Linked DNA regions of Homo sapiens: region 2 is linked to region 1. Evidence: promoter capture Hi-C in 16 types of primary human blood cells and fetal thymus (Javierre and others, 2016). All regions are on one chromosome and are shown on one strand. Each heading gives the region's core, a stretch centred on a gene start or on the middle of the fragment in contact. The rest is flanking DNA. Distances are from core to core; before and after follow the strand shown. Region 1 holds the start of ESYT3 (extended synaptotagmin 3). Region 2 has its middle 18 kb from the start of LINC01391.

Region 1 (5,868 bases), core at 1,269-3,768:
AGTAACTAGATGTCCAGGTCAAGGGAAATAAAGTCTCCAGTGTTCTAGGCACAGATTCCATCCCAGGTAGGGTATAGAGTTTTCAATGCCATATTCTCAATGTTCTCATATATTTAATTTGTGAGAGTAATTTAATGACAAATAAGGTTTTAAAAGTGGGGGGGGGCAGGCACAGTGGCTCACGCCTGTAATCTCAGCACTTTGGGCGGCTGAGGTGGGTGGATTGAGGTCAGGGGTTCGAGACCAGCCTGGCCAACATGGCAAAACTCCATCTTTACCAAAAATACAAAAATTATCTGGACATGGTGGCAAGTGTCTATAATCCTAGCTACTCAGGAGGCTAAGGCAGGAGAATCGCTTGAATCTGGGAGGCCGAGGTTGCGGTGAGCTGAGATTGCCTTACTGCACTCCAGATGGGGCAACAGAGTGAGACTCCATCTCAAAAAATAAATAAAATAAAATAAAAAATAAAATAACTTTAAAAAGGAGGGGGGTGAAATCATAATCCCATCACCCTAACGTACTTTGGAGAAGTTTTAGAAGAGGAACATTCCAGGTAGAGAGAACAGCAAGTACAAAAGCCTTGCAGCATAAATGAGCTTGATGTGTTCAAGGAAAGAAAGGCGATGCAGCTGGGGATGGCAATGTCCCACAGGTCGTCTCAGGCTGGGCATCTGTCTCAGTGGGTGTCCATCCAGTTCACAAACCAACAACCTTCCTTTCTCTAGTAATCCCCCCACAAACTCACTACCTTCCACACCCCCTCCCAAACTAGCCCAGGTTGAGGTGTGGACTTGCTGTGTGTGAAGGATGAAGGGGATGACAGATTCAGCAGGATCCTGTCTCCAAGGGGTTTGGAATTGGGACAGGATAAGGGTCAAGGCAGTCTCTCTGGATTGGTGAGACCTGTGTCCTCCATCTCTGGATGTTGGGGGGAAAGTGCTGTGTTCTGCACTTCAACCAGACAGGCAGGTCAGCAGGGAGGGCCACAAGGATGAGGAGCGCAGTTCTGGCAGTTAGTTTCCTGGTCCATCCATCCTGAGAGCCAGACACATTCTGCCTCAGCTTCCAGGAGAATTCCCAGTATCCCTAGCCTACACTCTCTTTTGCTTCAGCAGACCTGGGTTAACCAATAGAGAAATATTTTGAGGAAAGAATTCTGTGGTCAAATAATCTGGGAAACACTGGGTTAAATAGAATTTAATAACTTTTTGTCTGAAGGACTTCTCAGAGCCTTTACTAGGACTGTGTACATGCAACTCTCAAGAAGGAACTCCAGCGAGCAGCATTTCTTCCGTTGATTTCCCAGGCTACACTGGGAGAATGTTAAGTTGGGGGACTTTAAGCCTCTGTTTTGGCTGAGTCCTGGAAAGCCAAGAACAATAGAGAAGGGTCCAGGTATTCTGACCACCAGGAACTCACGTATTGTTGAAAAAACTCATTGCAGTAAGTAATTTTATCCAAGAGAGAGGATAAAGCCAGAGAGAGAAAAAGAGAGTGACAGAGCAAGAGTCAGAACGAGAACGGGAGACCGGGGCGGGGTGGGGAGGGGGGAGGGAGGGAGAGAGAGAAAAGGAAAGAGAATATTTTGATTGCTATCCATCGGCTCCAGCCTTTCGATAAAGCTGTTGAAACAGTAGAGTCATTCCAAATCACTCTGGTACATTTGTCAACTCCAAAATCACATTCCAGTAATTGATGTGAGCCCTTTCATGTGGCCGTCTGAAATATATGCTATCCGCAAGACGATTTACTATCCGAACTTAAGAGATTCGGAGCTCCACCTGCTCTGATCATTAAAGGGTTAGAAACCATGGGCTTCACCATTGACTCTCAGGCACCTCGGGGCTTCCTCTTCATCTTTCCTTTTATTCGCCGGTCGCTTGCCCTTGTTGGGCGCCCCACAGATGGCCAAGACGGGCCGGTCCCCGGAAGTTCCCCGTCTGATGATGCAGGGAATGACGATCCAAACAGACACCTAGAAGAGAGGATGGGGAGAGAGGGGCAGAGGGTTTTGTGGCGCGCAGGAGGGGCCCTGAGCTCGGCTTGGTGAGGCTGGGGGCTAGGTCCAAGCTTTACAGATGCCAGAGGAGCTGGCAGCGTTGCAGGCTCTAGGGGCCAGTTGGAGGGCCGGGACGCAGGACCTGAGGCTGGGGAGGCCTGGCTGAGCCTGTCCAGGGAGGGCCTCGAATGCCAGCTGAGTCCAGACTATACTGTGTATTATAGACCGCGTGTAGGAAACAGGTTTTAGGTGATGTTTATCCATGATAAGCCAGTTGTACACAGGTGTTGGTGAGTCATTAACCACCTAGGGCAGCACTTGGTCCACCCGGACTGGCGAGTGCACACCTCCGGCTGACGCCTGCGCCACGTGCTGGGGTCGGAGGCCGAGCTCACCGGCTGGTTGCTCTTTAGAGCGGGCAGGAGCCAGGCGGGCGGCCCGCCCCTCTAGGGCGGAGACTTCCGGAGCTGCGGACTCACTGGAGCCGAGAACTGGGGCGGCGCGGCGCGGCGCGGTGCATTTCCAGGCGCTGCTCTCCGTCGCAGAGAACCCTGAGCTCGGCGCGCCGAGAGTCCCAGCAGGGCAAGGGGGCGCGGCGTCCTGGTCCTCGAGCTTGGGAGACAGATGCGCATGGGCGTGGGGGCATGCGGACCTAAGCTCGGGTGAAGCTCTCGGGAAGGGCAAGACTGCGGCGACGAGATGCGAGCAGAGGAGCCCTGCGCCCCCGGGGCCCCCAGCGCCCTGGGAGCCCAGCGCACGCCGGGCCCCGAGCTGCGCCTGTCCAGCCAGCTGCTGCCCGAGCTCTGTACCTTCGTGGTGCGCGTGCTGTTCTACCTGGGGCCTGTCTACCTAGCTGGCTACCTGGGGCTCAGCATAACCTGGTTGCTGCTCGGCGCCCTGCTGTGGATGTGGTGGCGCAGGAACCGCCGCGGGAAGCTTGGGCGCCTGGCCGCCGCCTTCGAATTCCTTGACAATGAACGCGAGTTCATCAGCCGCGAGCTGCGGGGCCAGCACCTGCCAGCCTGGGTGAGCCAAGCCGGGTGGGAGTGGGAGGTGGGGAGATGCCTTTCGAGGTTCGGAGGAACTTGCGGTCAGCGGGGAGCTGGTGCGCGCAAACCCGAGGCAGGGCGGGAGCCCGGCGACCTGCACACCCCGTTCCCCACCGCTCCCGGGGCGCAGACCCTGGGGACGGTGACCGCCCCTCCCGCGGCGCGCAGCACCCTCACGTCCACCTCTGGTCCGACTGCGGTGGGAGTGGGGAACTTGGGTTTCATTTAAGGCCCCAGAGCTCGAGAGAAGAGTCACGGGCAGACCACACCCGGGAGAAAAACAAGGGCGTCTGGGACTTCGCAGACTTACTCGGGTTGGAATCAGAAGGCATTTCTTCCACCCGCCTGTTGATTCAGAGAACGAACGCCGGACGCAAAACGTAGATGGGCAAATACCGCAGTGACAGAAACGGCGGGCCCAGTTGCTTTCGGCCGAGGCCTGGACTGCGGTAGGGGGAGGGCTCCGCGGGGCTGGAGGTGGAGTGGCGGGTACGGCTGGGAGACCGACGGCGCCGGGCCCCGGGCCTCCTTCCCTCCCTCCCTCCGCCGGATAGGGATGCCGGCACACGCACACTGCCCCGACAAACCCATCTCCTGGGGCGGCATGGGCGGCACTACGATTCCTCAAACGCTTCTGGTCCTGGCTTACCTAACAAAACCCAAGTTCTGGGCCCCATTGCATAACTCCCAGGGTGGCACAGAGGTATCCTGGGTGATTCTTATGATTAGGTGAGCTTGGGAAACACCGGCAAGAGGGGTGTTCCGTCCAATGGTTGGTCTGCGGCAAACCCTTACTGTCTCTCCGGTGCTGGGGCTCTTCGTTTTCAGATTTCTTCCAGTTACTCTCAGGCCCACGGGGGAGGTCGCCAGACCCCTCACTGTCTCTAGCCTGTGGCCTATAAAGTCCAGCAGGGCCATAGGTTCCTCCTGACAGTAGTCTGTAAAGTGAGGTGTGAGAAAAAAATATAAGGCCCATTTAGTTTATCTTATAAGAGAAATGAAGTCTTACTGTATCAGTCAGCCATAACTGAGTACAACAGGCTGCGTGGCTTAAGCAGCAGACACTTTTTTCCTTTCCTTTCTAGAGCCCCGAAGTCCAAGATCAAGGTGTTGGCAGGGTTGGTTTCTCCTGCGGCCTCTGCTGGCTTGCAGCTGGCTGTCTTCCTACCGTCTTCACACCGTCTTCCTTCTGTGTCCTAATCTCTTCTTAGAAGGACATCAGTCATATTGGATTAAGGCTCACCCTAATGAACTCATTTTAACTTAATTACCACTTTAAAAACCCTACCTGCAAATAGAATCACATTCTGAAGAACTGAGAATTAGCACTTCAAAGTGGGCATACACTTCATAACACTTAATATTTAATGTACGATTTGATGGTAAAGCTTTGCAAATAGCTTACATATTTGGGGGATGAGGGGCCAAAGACTCTTCCTGATAAGGGTGCACACTTTTCTACGGTAGTAGCCATAGGGGTAGCGCATGGGGCCTGACTCCCACAGACTTTGGTCATCCTGATGGTTCTGTGGGGCTTGTGATTCTGAAAGGTGTGGACCCAGCAGGCTTGACCTGTCCACACCCCTTGCACACAGTTGAGGGAGTCCAGGCCATCTGTCAGATCTCTGTTTTGTCCCCCTTGATGGCCTTAGCCCATGAGGGTGGGCCTGCGAGTCTTCACCAAGTAACATCCCTTCTTTTCTCCCCTTCTGTATCAGGGAAGCCTCTAGACACTGAGCTATATGTAAAGGCAGTATATCCGATATTGGGTCAAAAATCAGATCGTGTAGGGGCGTGGACACCCTCCCTGCCTCTCCCCCACATACACCACAGAGACAGTTCTGGCCTCTGTTGGGGATACAGACCCCAGGAGCAATATGGACCTAGCCAACAGGGAGCTCAGCCTGAACTCAAGAAGGCACCTCCTAGGTTTTCACCCCACAACCCATATCCCAGGCTTGACCCAGCTGGGTAGAGGGACACTCAGAGGAAGGTGATGCTCTCTGTCCTACCAAGAAGGCAGTCTCGGGTGGGGGACAGATGCATAACAGGTCATTGCCATTGAGGAGAATTGGAGCCAGGAGTCGGAACAGGGTCTAGTCAGGTAGAAGGCCTGGTATGAAGGACACCCTACCAGGTTTCCATATCATATTGTCCCCGAATCACAGCCCCCTTTCTCCTTGACAAGGACCTGGGAAAGGCTGGCTTCAGCCTGCATTCTGCAGACTCGCCTGGCTGGCTTGTCTGGCCAGGTTGGAGGACCAGGGCCTGGATAACCTGTTGGACTGGGCCACTGGTGCGGCACAGGGCATTCTGGCCGAGGGAGGTGGTGAGCACAGCATGGAGGTGTGACATAGCCACTGCATGAGGGGGCGCTGTGTGCTGGGCCTGGCTGAAGTGTGTGGTAGGGGTTGATGTGTGACAGGGTCAAGTTGAGGCAGACTTGATGGAGGCTGGCCTTGTTCTGAAGGCTGGAAGGAGCCTTGGATGCTTCTGAAAGGCCCTTCAGAAAGCAGCATGGTGGGACGAGGAAGGCTGGAGGAGACAGGCCAGTTGGGAAGGTGATTTCAGCCAAGATGGTAGTAATGAGGGAGGAGAGTGGGAGATGCGTGGGAGTGGGACTTTAGATGCGTGGTGGCCTCTAGAGTAGGGGTGCAGGGGGATCCAGGGGTCTTCAGGGTGCTTTCTGGTTTAGGGAGCTGTTGACCATTATTGCGATTGGGATTCCAGGATGAGAAACAGGTCTGGGGAGGTTGGTTGCCTGTATGAACACCTGTGAAGTGCATACAAACAGATGCAGGTGTGGGCTTTTCACCC
Region 2 (5,868 bases), core at 1,466-3,965, 490 kb after region 1:
CTGGGCTCAAGTAATCCTTCTGCCTCAGCCTCCCAAATAGCTGGGACTACAGATGTGTGCCACCAAGCCCAGCTACGTGGCCTTCTTTAAATGATCCAATTTCTGACTCTAAGCCCCCATCCTGCCTATTGTCAGGGGTCTTGGGACGTCAGTCTTCGGATATTATTACCACGTTATTTGCTCCCAGGGCTGCATGTCCTTGGGGCCTGGCGTCTCTTCAATTTCATGCCATGCTGGTGTGCCTGGGTCACAGGTACAGCCTATGATCATCTCCTCTGAGCACCTGCCATCTTCCCAGGGCATCTTCAGGAAAAATTATTGAAACTAGGAACTATTGAGCTTCTCTTGTCTGTGGGTGCTAGGGGCCCCCAGCCCTAACCCAGGCATCAGCAGCTTCAGTTTCCATCTACAGAATGCAAGATCTCAGCTCACTGCAAAACTGCCCTTCCTCTGGGTGCTTCCAGGAGTCCACAGGGGATGTTTCTTGAGTAACAAGCTTTTCTCTCACCTACTTCCACTTTGGACCACACTGCCCCCTTGTGGAGGGTGGTGACTCTGCCATTGCTTTATACGCCTGTGATGGCTGTGAGTTACGTTCTTGCCCAGGGTGCATCTGACAGCCACTCAAAGCTGCAGTCCTCGAGGATCCAGAGGGTCCACACAGTTGTGTGGTCCCTCGCAGCCAGGCTGTCACCCCAGCACTCCTCCCCTGATCTGAGTTGCACCTTGTGACCTGGGCATGGAGGCAGTGCTGCCTGTGGTCCTGGGACTCTTGGGATCCTTCTTGAGGAGGACTCTTCTGCCTCAGCCTGTGGCTTTTTTCTCCGTAACACAGGCCCAGTGTATTAGGAGTCTTCCAATTGCAGATGACGGAAACTCAGCTTAAGTTGTTTACAATTCCAATAAATAAATAAATAAATAAAAAGAAAGAAAGAAAGTGTATTGGTTTGTCACTGAAAACTCATGGCAAGTCTTCAGGTATAACTGGATCCAGGAGCTTGAACAGCGTGGTCAGAGCGCAGTCTTACTCCTGTCTGTTCTGCTTTCCTTTGTGCTGGCTTTACTCCCATGCAGGCTTTCTCCACTTGGGTGCTCTCTAAAGTTTTGGGCTTATTTCTTCCCCACAGCTATCAATCTTAGTGGAAAGAAGCTTCTCTTTGCCTTCAGTCCCTACAAAAGTTCTGCAATTGGGTCTCTTTGGCTCAATTCACTTGCTTGCCATTGAAACAACCCCTGTGAAAGACAGGGTGAAATATACAAATACACTTCCTCTCTGGCTGGGTGCGGTGGCTCACGCCTGTGATCCTAGCACTTTGGGAGGCCGAGGCGGGTGGATCACCTGAGGTCAGGAGTTTGAGACCACTCTAGCCAACATGGTGAAACCCCGTCTGTACTAAAAATACAAAAATTAGCTGGGTGTGGTGGCACACGCCTGTAGTCCCAGCTACTCCAGAGGCTGAGGCAGGAGAATCACTTGAACCCGGGAGGTGTTCAGCAGTAAGGTTTTCTGACAAGTGACCCTGTCCTCTTTCTTGGACCAAGGCTGGCCTGTGACCCCAGGGCCACCATTCCAGGTACTGGGTAGGCCAGCAACCTCTGAGGTGACTTGTCTTGACAGGATGAGTAGCCTCAAGTAGTTTGTCCCTTGGAGATTGGAATTAAGAATTTCCAAGAGAGGTTTTCAATTTGTAGAAGGAGTAGGGGCTGGAGGGTCCTCAGTGGCCATATGTATAACAAATCCAGGAGGGAGTGGTCAATTCAGCAGAGAACAGGGGGACATGCAAAAGAAGCAGGGAGGTCTTGGGAAAGATCATGCAGTCCAGGAGAGAGAGACAGGGCTGCTGAGAGACAGAGAGACCTCTGATCCCATTGGCAGTCCAGTCTCAAGACCATACATTGAGTTCCTTTTTCTTTATCCTGCAAAACTTTGTAGTTTAAAACACAAACACCCAGTTAAATCTAGCTGATTTATTTACAACTATAGACTGACTTAAAGATAAGCAATAGGCTGGGTGCGGCGGCTCACGCCTGTAATCCCAGCACTTTGGGAGGCTGAGGCGGGCAGATCACCTGAGGTCAGGAGTTCGAGACCAGCTGGCCAACATGGTGAAACCCCATCTCTAGTAAAAATACAAAAATTAGCCAGGTATGGTGGTGGGCACCTGTAATCCCAGCTACTCAGGAGGCTGAGGCAGAAGAATCACTTGAACCCAGGACGCAGAGGTTGCAGTGGGCCAAGGTAGCGCTCTTGCACTCCAGCCTGGGTGGCAGAGCGAGACTCCATTGCAAAAATAAATAAATAAATAAAGATGAGTAATAATATTCCAAGTGAGAGAAGGAAATATTCAGACTGCTTAACTTGTAGCTCACATATATTCATTATTTCTGTACCTTTTTTTTTTTTTTAATTTTGACAGGGTCTCTATCTCTCAGGCTGGAGTGCAGTGGTGGTGAGGTCTCAGCTCACTTCAACTTTCGCCTCCCAGGTTCAGGTGATCTTCCCACCTCAGCCTTCCAAATAGTTGGGACCACAGGCATGCACCACCACAGCGGTTAATTTTTTTGTAGAGATGTGGTTTTGCCACGTTGCCCAGGCTGGTCTCTAACTCCTGGACTCAAGTGATCCTCCCACTTTGTCCTCCCAAGGTGATGGGATTACAGGCATGAGCCACTGTGCCCAGCTGGTACTTTTTTTTATTTTAAGATTATAGTATTATCTGTCTCCCTATCAGCCATTTCATCCTCTCTTCCTTGTCAGGGAACTCTGATTTTGTTCAAGGATATAAGTAACTCAAATATTACATAGGGCCATGTGCAGTGGCTCACATCTGTAGTCCTAGCACTTTGGGGGGCCAAGGCAGGAGGATCGCTTGAGCTCAGAAGTTCGAGGCTGCAGCGAGCTATGATTGTGCCACTGCCTTCCAGCCTGGGCAACAGAGTGAGACCCTGTCTCAAAAAAGAAAAAAAATTACATAAGCAGAGTATGCGACAACAACAACAAAATCATAGAGACCTTGGCCTCTACTCTTAGGCAGATCCCAGTTATCTGAGTCAGCCATGGTGGTCTCATTCTTTTGCCAACAGTTGGTTTAGGAACCAGCATGTAACAGACTCAGTCCTGGCCCATGAGATGAATAGGGAACTCTACTGAGGGATTCAGGGAGAGTGGATCAGACTTCTAAGAAAGAGTCTGGAAGAAATGGCTCCTTTTCCCATCAGAATTTTTCTTTCTTTCTTTCTTTCTTTTTTTAAATTTTAAATGTGGGCCAGGTGCAGTGGCTCACACCTGTAATCCCAGCACTTTGGGAGGCTGAAGGCAGGTGGATCACTTGAAGTCAGGAGTTCGAGAGCAGCCCGGACAACATGGTGAAACCCCATTCCTGCTAAATGCACGCGCACACACACACACACACACACACACAAACACACGAAAAATTAGCTGGGCATGGTGGCATATGCCTGTAATCCCAAAATCCCAACTACTTGGGAGGCTGAGACATGAGAACGGCTTGAAATCAGGAGGCAGAGCTTGCAATGAGCCAATATTTGGCCAATGCACTCCAGCCTGGGTCTTACTCTAGGGAGACTCTGTCTCAAAAAAAAAAAAGAAAAATAAATTCTGAATGTGATGTCTGTTACAGTCCACAGAGGTAAAAGATACAAGTAGCAGGGCTTGTGCCCAAGTTTTAGAGTGACTGTACCTATAGCCTACAGCCAGTAATCTCTGTCTTCTTTATTGTGAGATAATAAAGCCCTCATTATTTACATTCCTTTTAAAATAAAATCCCACAGTATTGTATTGTAATTGATGCAGATATAGCAGGTTATTAAACCACAGCTAGATTAATATTGTCATGAATCACAGGAAATTTTAGAGGTCATCTGTCTAATACAGTTCTACTTTACATCCCTACAGTGGCAAGATCCCAGTTAGAATGTGGAGTTGGCCTCTGTCCCTGTGCTATTTACTGGCTGGGGGCCCTGCACAAGTTATTTAATCTTGCTCAGTCTCACTTTCCTTACATATTAAAAGGAAATATAGTTTGTGGGAACTAAGTGAGATAATGTATCATGGCTGGCATAGAATAGGCACCAAATAAAAGCTAGCTATCATGGTTATTTCCAGATGAAAAAGGCATGGTTTTTGCCTTCAATAATATTACAATTAAGGAGTATGGAAAAGACAAACAGCCATGAAACGCAAAGTAAGACCTGATGAAAACAACTGAGTCAAATCATGGGGGTAAAGAGAACATGTGCTGTAAGAGTTCAGAGGTGAGAAAAGCTTTATTTATTTATTTATTTTTAGAGACAGAGTCTTGCTCTGTCACCCAGGCTGGAGTACAGTGGCACGATTATAGCTCACTGCAGCCTTGACCTCCTGGGCTCAAGGAATCCTCTTGAATAGCTAGGACTACAGGCATGTGCCACCATGCCCGACTAATTAATTTTTTTTTTTCTGTAGAGACAGGTCTTGCTATGTTGCCCCGGCTACTTGTGAATTCCTGGCCTCAAGCAATCCTTCCACCTTGGCCTCCCAAAGCTCTAGGATTATAGGTATGAGCCACTGTGCCCAGCCCAGAGGTGAGAAAAGCTTAATGAGCAAAAGGGCATTTGGGATTATGGCTGATTTTTATGATCTGAATTTTTCAAATTCCCTGCAAAAAATATCTATTGCCTATTTAATCACATAAAAGTTATTAAAATAATGTGCATTCCTCAATAAATAAAGGAAAGAAACAAATCTCCAAATGCCCATTGCAATGTTTCCCTTTGATAGTAGTGAACAACCTGGAAACATCCTAAATGTAGGAATTAAATAAATTGGGCCACATCCATGTGGCTGAATATGTTATACATATACATATGTATGACATATAATATGTCATACAGTTGTTAAACAGCTGGGAATTGTGTACCAATATGGAAAAATGAAAAGAATTGCTTTGTTAGTGGTTAGACGTTGGATGGTTATTGGCTTTCCATCTGAATTTCGAGTTTCCATGATTACTACAATATTGTTTGTGCAATAAAACATTTAATAAAATCAAAGAAAATAAGTGTGAAATTTGACCCGAACAATGGGGCCTTTTGTGTAACATTCTTTGCTCTGGTGGTTGCAGGGGTCTGCCTATTTCTCCACACCCTGGCAGGTCCACAGCACAGATCCTTTGTCACCCTTAAGAAGGTGTGTGTGGAAGGCATGCGGCCTTGGTTGGCCAGGGCTGAGGACACCATCCCCTTCCCCAGTGGGTGGTGGGGGCTGCTTTCAGTGCCTCCTTGTCTGGAAGGGATATTAAGGCAGGAGGCCTGGCTATGGCTTTTTGTTTTTGATATTCTCTTCATTAGATGTTCTATACTGTTTGTAAAATGGATGCTAAACCAGGAGAAAAACAGGTCTACCGTGTTTCCTTGATCATCTGTGAGGGGCTCCGGCACAGGTGCTAGGTAGACAGGTAAAACGCAGCCATTTTCCTCTCACCCTTTCAGGGAAACCCTGCCATGCTTTCCTCCTTAGGAGTTACTTTTGGCAGGCCCGGGTCCCAAAGTCTAAGGGCCTGTGTATTTACTTCCCCTGAAGAGACAAGGGCCTGTAGCCCTCTTTTGGGGTCAGCGTCTGACACTAAACAGAGTCACTCATGGCTGTGACTTCCAGGCAGTGGACACGAGCTCTTCGGACTGCCAAGGCTGGCTCCAGCCACCCAGTTCCGCTTTTCTCTGGGGCCATCTGTAACAGTGCGGGGGGACGTGGGGTGGTCCCTGGGTGTCGCGGCGCAGAGCCCGGTCAGATGCGTGCCATTAGTGGAGACAAGCTCTGCATGGAGCTGGTGGCCTAATGGGGACCACGCTCGCCCTAATGCGAAGCAG

The links. Contacts are between HindIII fragments. The CHiCAGO score rates a contact against its expected background, and 5 or more counts as called.
Region 2: a fragment that was not itself captured here is called in contact with the fragment with the promoter of ESYT3 in region 1 in 2 of 17 cell types (megakaryocytes and M0 macrophages); the score reaches 7.4 in megakaryocytes.

What each region holds. Positions count from the first base shown.
Region 1 is chr3:138,432,098-138,437,965 of GRCh38, forward strand. It overlaps ESYT3 (extended synaptotagmin 3), which reads left to right and starts at 2,519. Exons shown (of 23, transcript NM_031913.5): 1 at 2,519-3,028. The coding sequence starts at 2,702. The HindIII fragment of the contact is 865 bases long and covers 2,072-2,936 here.
Region 2 is chr3:138,923,091-138,928,958 of GRCh38, forward strand. No RefSeq gene overlaps it. Among named protein-coding and RNA genes, the nearest start is that of LINC01391, 18 kb to the right of the region's middle. RefSeq lists an enhancer at 415-464. The HindIII fragment of the contact is 3,135 bases long and covers 1,149-4,283 here.